2 separate regions of the Homo sapiens genome follow, and region 2 is linked to region 1. The links are contacts of gene promoters, found by promoter capture Hi-C in human tissues and cell types (Jung and others, 2019). All regions are on one chromosome and are shown on one strand. Each heading gives the region's core, a stretch centred on a gene start or on the middle of the fragment in contact. The rest is flanking DNA. Distances are from core to core; before and after follow the strand shown.

Region 1 (3,002 bases), core at 302-2,801:
AGACATAACTTTAGACGTTAACCTTGTTTTAAAATGTGCCTTTCGGCAAATAGATAAGTGAGAAGAGAGATCAGGATCTGGGGGTGTTAACGGCATAAAGTGAGATGCTCCTGAACTGAACGAGCAAGAAAAAATATTTTCTTGAAAGCAGTCCTCCAGAAAGAATTCTTATCATAGATAAGGGTGCAGTCTAGTGGCAAACTTCATGAAATGCAGCCCCTTCTCCAAAGGAAAGTTAGAATACTTCTCAAGGGAGGAAGCACAATGTAAAAGGTGTAACAGCCCACACCAAGTCCACCCAGCAGGGGCAGTGACATTGGTCATTTCTCTCTGACTTGCCTGTGAGGCTCATGGCTCACTCAGGTCAATTTCAGAAAAAGCTAAAACCACCACCTTCCTATTTCAAGGCCTTAGTTTTCTTTCATTTTATTAAAGAGGTTCTAGTGGCATGATTCGGTTCCTGGTCAGGACCTCTTCCAAGCAGGTCCTGTGGCCCTGTCAGCTCATATTCCTGGGATGTGCCTATAAGCACCAACTAACCTGTCAACCTATCACAAGGTCTCCTCCAGCTACTCTGCCACCCACTCCCTCCAGGGATGTGGCCCTGCCCAATAGAAATACCTCTGCAAAGTGACAGAGAGGGAAGTGTCACTCCAATCCACCTTTCTTCCCTCTAAGAACCCCACACACAAGGACACTTTAGGCCACCATGCAAGGTTTTCAGACTTAGCATTTCCTCCAAAGTGTCCATCTCTGCAACTCACTGCTCTCAATAATGCTGTTGTATGAATGTCCATTCCTGCAGATACACAACACACACACATACACACACACACACAGAGAGAGAGAAAGAGAGAGAGAACCTCCCTGGCCAACGCAGCTGAAGGCAACTGGTCACCTCTTCATCATGAGTACTGAAACCCCCTGATTAAATCCTCTTCTCCAGACTTTTAGGGGAGAAATTCAATTTTTTCTTCTTTTTTAAATTTAGCTCACCAGACATCACTGGCCATTCTACACTACCTGTCCCCCAAACACACACACACACACACCCCACATGGAAACAGACACCAGCATACAGTCAATTGCAGAAGCTTAGGAAGATTTCTTGGGCACGGTATATCCAGTTGGCTAATAAGAAAATACGTCTCCCTTCAGCCTGTGCCTTGACTACTTAAAGGATAGGAGGGAAGGGGAGACGAAGTTACTCTCCTCATTGTGTTCACCCTGCTCCGAAGAACTCTGTCTTCCACTGGCCCCTCCACCTCCTCCCCATTCTCGGTAGCCCCAGCCTGTCCCCCTTGCCCCTTTCTTACATTCCGGGGGGAGGAGGGCGCTGTTCAGAGGGGAGGAGGGCGCTGTTCAGGGAGCGAAGGGGAGCCCCCTTGTGTCTAGAAGGCCTCTCCCCACCCCCACCCCGTGTGAGTTTGTACTGCAAAGCTCCTTGGCATCCTTGCCTGAGTTGGGTGTTGGGAAGCTCAAATTGCAGCTACAAACTGGCTGGCAGCCAGGGGCCGGCTATTTAAAAGCGCCTGCTCTCCCGGAGCCCCGTAGTCTCTTTGGAAACTTCTGCAGGGGAAAAGAGCTAGGAAAGAGCTGCAAAGCAGTGTGGGCTTTTTCCCTTTTTTGCTCCTTTTCATTACCCCTCCTCCGTTTTCACCCTTCTCCGGACTTCGCGTAGAACCTGCGAATTTCGAAGAGGAGGTGGCAAAGTGGGAGAAAAGAGGTGTTAGGGTTTGGGGTTTTTTTGTTTTTGTTTTTGTTTTTTAATTTCTTGATTTCAACATTTTCTCCCACCCTCTCGGCTGCAGCCAACGCCTCTTACCTGTTCTGCGGCGCCGCGCACCGCTGGCAGCTGAGGGTTAGAAAGCGGGGTGTATTTTAGATTTTAAGCAAAAATTTTAAAGATAAATCCATTTTTCTCTCCCACCCCCAACGCCATCTCCACTGCATCCGATCTCATTATTTCGGTGGTTGCTTGGGGGTGAACAATTTTGTGGCTTTTTTTCCCCTATAATTCTGACCCGCTCAGGCTTGAGGGTTTCTCCGGCCTCCGCTCACTGCGTGCACCTGGCGCTGCCCTGCTTCCCCCAACCTGTTGCAAGGCTTTAATTCTTGCAACTGGGACCTGCTCGCAGGCACCCCAGCCCTCCACCTCTCTCTACATTTTTGCAAGTGTCTGGGGGAGGGCACCTGCTCTACCTGCCAGAAATTTTAAAACAAAAACAAAAACAAAAAAATCTCCGGGGGCCCTCTTGGCCCCTTTATCCCTGCACTCTCGCTCTCCTGCCCCACCCCGAGGTAAAGGGGGCGACTAAGAGAAGATGGTGTTGCTCACCGCGGTCCTCCTGCTGCTGGCCGCCTATGCGGGGCCGGCCCAGAGCCTGGGCTCCTTCGTGCACTGCGAGCCCTGCGACGAGAAAGCCCTCTCCATGTGCCCCCCCAGCCCCCTGGGCTGCGAGCTGGTCAAGGAGCCGGGCTGCGGCTGCTGCATGACCTGCGCCCTGGCCGAGGGGCAGTCGTGCGGCGTCTACACCGAGCGCTGCGCCCAGGGGCTGCGCTGCCTCCCCCGGCAGGACGAGGAGAAGCCGCTGCACGCCCTGCTGCACGGCCGCGGGGTTTGCCTCAACGAAAAGAGCTACCGCGAGCAAGTCAAGATCGGTGAGCGCGCTCAGTGTGCCAGTCAGTTACGCGGCGCACGGGCGGGGGACACGAGACCGGCTGGGCCCGCGCGCTTTGCGCAGCAAGTGGCTTCGAGCTGGGGTGCAGCTCGGGAGTAGTCGGGGAGGGTCCTTGCACCCCGGAATTGGAGCCCTGGAGGATCCTGCTACCCGGGGGAACTGTCTAGCCGAGTCTATCCCAGCTTTCGCTCTTTCTCCTTCCTCCTACCCACACGTTGCCCGCCCCCTCCCCCTACTCTGTCCGAATACTGATTCTGAGCTCTTATTCGGTCACAAGGTCCAAATCCCCTGGTACCCTATCTACAGTCTGAAAGAGTGTAT
Region 2 (3,002 bases), core at 314-2,813, 660 kb before region 1:
TTCTGTTGATTTAGGAATAGTTCTGGTGATCAGAAAAAGTCTCATTATAAGATGACTTTTTCCTAGGACAAAATCCTAAAAAGGGGGGTGATTTTTCTAGGGAATAGGAAAGTCACCCTCCTATGAAATCACCCTCCTGGGTGAAATTAGCTGTACCTTCCTGTTCTGGGATCCCATATACCCTATACTTCCCCTATCATGTCTGTTTCATATGAACAGCATTTCATATTCTAACTCGTGGTGCTTCTTTAAGACTTCTCGTACCTTAAACTCTAGGAAGGTAGGAGCCCTATGTGACTTTTTCAATGCTATGTCTCCTATTCCTGAGACAAAACATATGTTCAGTAAATACTGACCGGAGGAATATCTGCTCGTTTCCTGCTCAACACTCTGGCAGAAATGAGGAACAAGGCCTCTGTGAGTGTAAGGGCTTTTTTGTCAACTGGATTTATCTGCTGCCTTTATTTCTGCCATGGCAGCTACTATCTCCTTGGGTTAAGAGCATTGAACTGGAAGAAGCTTGTCATTTTACCAACTGCAAAATGTGGGGAGGGGGAATAAGGAGAGGTGAGGTGAGGAGCCCATAAACTTAGGAGAACCTTATATGTGGGGTCAGTGTAGCTAGAAGAAGGTCAGCAGCTATTTGATCAGCTTCTCCTTTGTAACCTCAGATCTCACCAGTAATTAAACTGATGGAATATGCTCTAAATCCCTAGGCTTCATGTCCCTGGGGCCCTAGTGGTTTTGATGAATAGCCTCCACTATGAGGCACCCTGAAGGCAGTCCCCTGTGTGAATACAAATCTTGCCTTCTTGCCCCACCCCCATTTATTCTACACCTATCACCCACAAACCCCAACCCCTCCACTTCTTTTGCTCTACAAACTATTAGGAAGACATCCAATAAGTCATCCCAGCTGAAGTAGCATGGCAGGAGAAACACCTCATCCATAACCACCTCAACCACTCCCTTTGTCAAAAGTAGGGTGAGATAAAGACTTTAGTATCCTTTGGAAAAACTCAGCATCTGGACAATACATGCTAGGAAAGAACCTGTTCCTTCATCTCCCAACCCTGGGCAAGGTGGATGACCACACCTTGAGTGGGCAGCGTATAGAGTTGGAGGAATCTTACATTGTTGCTTTCAAATGGCACCCTTGAATATTCCCAAAACACACCATTGTGTTTGGAAGCCCAGGGGAAGGAAAGGAGCCACAAGCAAATTCAAGCATGCCTCAAAATCCTAAAAGTAAATCTCGAGCCAGACTGCCAAAGTTTAAATCCCAACTGAACTACAGGCTAGCAATGTGATTTGGGGAAAGTTTCTTTACCCCTAGTCACCTCTGTTTTCCCTGTAAAATAGGGATAATAATTATACTCAAGTTGGCCAGGAGTGGTGGCTCATGCCTGTACAATCCCAACATTTTGAGAGGCTGAGGCAGGCAGATCACTTGAGGTCTGGAGTTCGAGACCAGCCTGGCCAACATGGTGAAACCCTGTCTCTACTAAACATACAAAAATTAGCCAGTTATGGTGGCTGGTGCCTGTAGTCCCAGCTACTGGGGAGGCTGAGACAGGAGAACTGCTTGAACCCTGGAGGTGGGGGTTGCAGTGAGCCAAGATTGTGCCACTGTACTCCAGCCTGGGCAAGACAGTGAGACTCCGCTTCAAAAACCAACAAACAAAAAATAATAATAATGATACCCAAGTCAAGGGTAATTAGAAATATTAAATAAGCTTATTCAAGAACAGGACTTAGCACAAAGCATAGTACCTGAAAAATCCTCAGTAGAAACTATCTGGTTGTTATTGTTATTATTACTATTAACTGTATTGTTATTATTACTATTAGTTCTCCATAAATTGTTTTACCAAGTAGCATAGTTAAGTAAAACTAAATAGGAAGACATCTACAGAAATATTAAAGGAGGGATTTGAGGCAAGATGGCCAACTAGACTCAGCTAAGTGGAACAGCTGCCACCGAGGTACCTGGATGACTGGCATGCTCCTAACAGATCTTCAGAGGAAAGGCACTGAGAGTGGACAGAGGGAAGACACAGAAGCTGGGCTGAAGGAGAAAGAAGCTGGAAATCCCACATGGGGCTGCTGTACACCAGAACTTGTTCTTGGCCCCCAGTGACTGGGAGAACATGTGAGTTGATCTGGCAAGGAGCAACCTGCTCTCGCCATGGATCTCCTGAATCCTGGCAGAGGGAGACCCCTCTACAACCAGAGACACTTGAGTTGGCAGGGAGAGCTGCCAGAGAAATGGTAGGGACAGTACTCTAGTCCCTGTAGAGCCCAGAGGGTTTGGTGCAGGAGCATCTGTAGCAGAGGTTGGCTGTAGATGCCCATCCCCTTAGGCTTGCCTTCTTCCCATAGAAGATTTTAGCCCTAGGGGAACTGTCAGACCTGAACTGTGAGGGGAGGTTTTGCCCATCAGACAGGGCTCTTGTGCACCCCTTGGTCTGCTGGCCTCTCCCAGAGCCCCAGCTGAACCACACCTGCTTGCAGTGCAGCCTCGGGTGCCCTGGGGGCCTACATCACAGCTCCTGCACTGGTGGACCACACCTGACCAGCAGAGAGCTCCAGCAGAGCAGCCCCCATGGACATGCACCAGCTTGCTCACTCCCTCTGCCCACTGTAGCTTCCCCTGGGCCATGGCCACCCCCCACATATCTTTGCCAGCACGTGTGTGCCTGGGCAGATTTTGCCTTCCCTGACCTGCCAGCATGCGTGTGAGCGTGCATCCTGCCCTGCCGCTGCTGCCAATGTGAGTGCCCCCCAACACCCTAACCCCCACCACCATACTGCCATTGCAGTCTGAGCCTTGGTGGGCACAGAACCCATCAGCCCTGCCCCTACAGAGCCCCGCCCCTGCATCAATGCTGCTGACAAGTGAAACTAGGCACTCAGAACAGAGGACTCTCTGCTGCCCTGAGTGGCCCCCTTTGCCTGCATGAACATGCAAAGAAGGCACACACAGACCTGCAGCTGCCAGA

The links. Contacts are between HindIII fragments. The study calls those that stand out against the background at their distance.
Region 2: a contact is called between a fragment that was not itself captured here and the fragment with the promoter of IGFBP5 in region 1, in 2 of the 25 tissues and cell types used here (bladder and lymphoblastoid cells).

Annotation. Positions count from the first base shown.
Region 1 is chr2:216,694,098-216,697,099 of GRCh38, reverse strand. IGFBP5 (insulin like growth factor binding protein 5) reads left to right here and starts at 1,551. Exons shown (of 4, transcript NM_000599.4): 1 at 1,551-2,661. The coding sequence starts at 2,325. It overlaps IGFBP-AS1 (IGFBP5 antisense RNA 1), which reads right to left and starts at 2,654. Exons shown (of 6, transcript NR_187138.1): 1 at 2,339-2,654. The HindIII fragment of the contact is 12,405 bases long and covers 1-3,002 here.
Region 2 is chr2:217,351,187-217,354,188 of GRCh38, reverse strand. All of the region lies in intron 8 of DIRC3 (disrupted in renal carcinoma 3), which reads left to right. Among named protein-coding and RNA genes, the nearest start is that of DIRC3-AS1, 70 kb to the right of the region's middle. The HindIII fragment of the contact is 3,014 bases long and covers 57-3,002 here.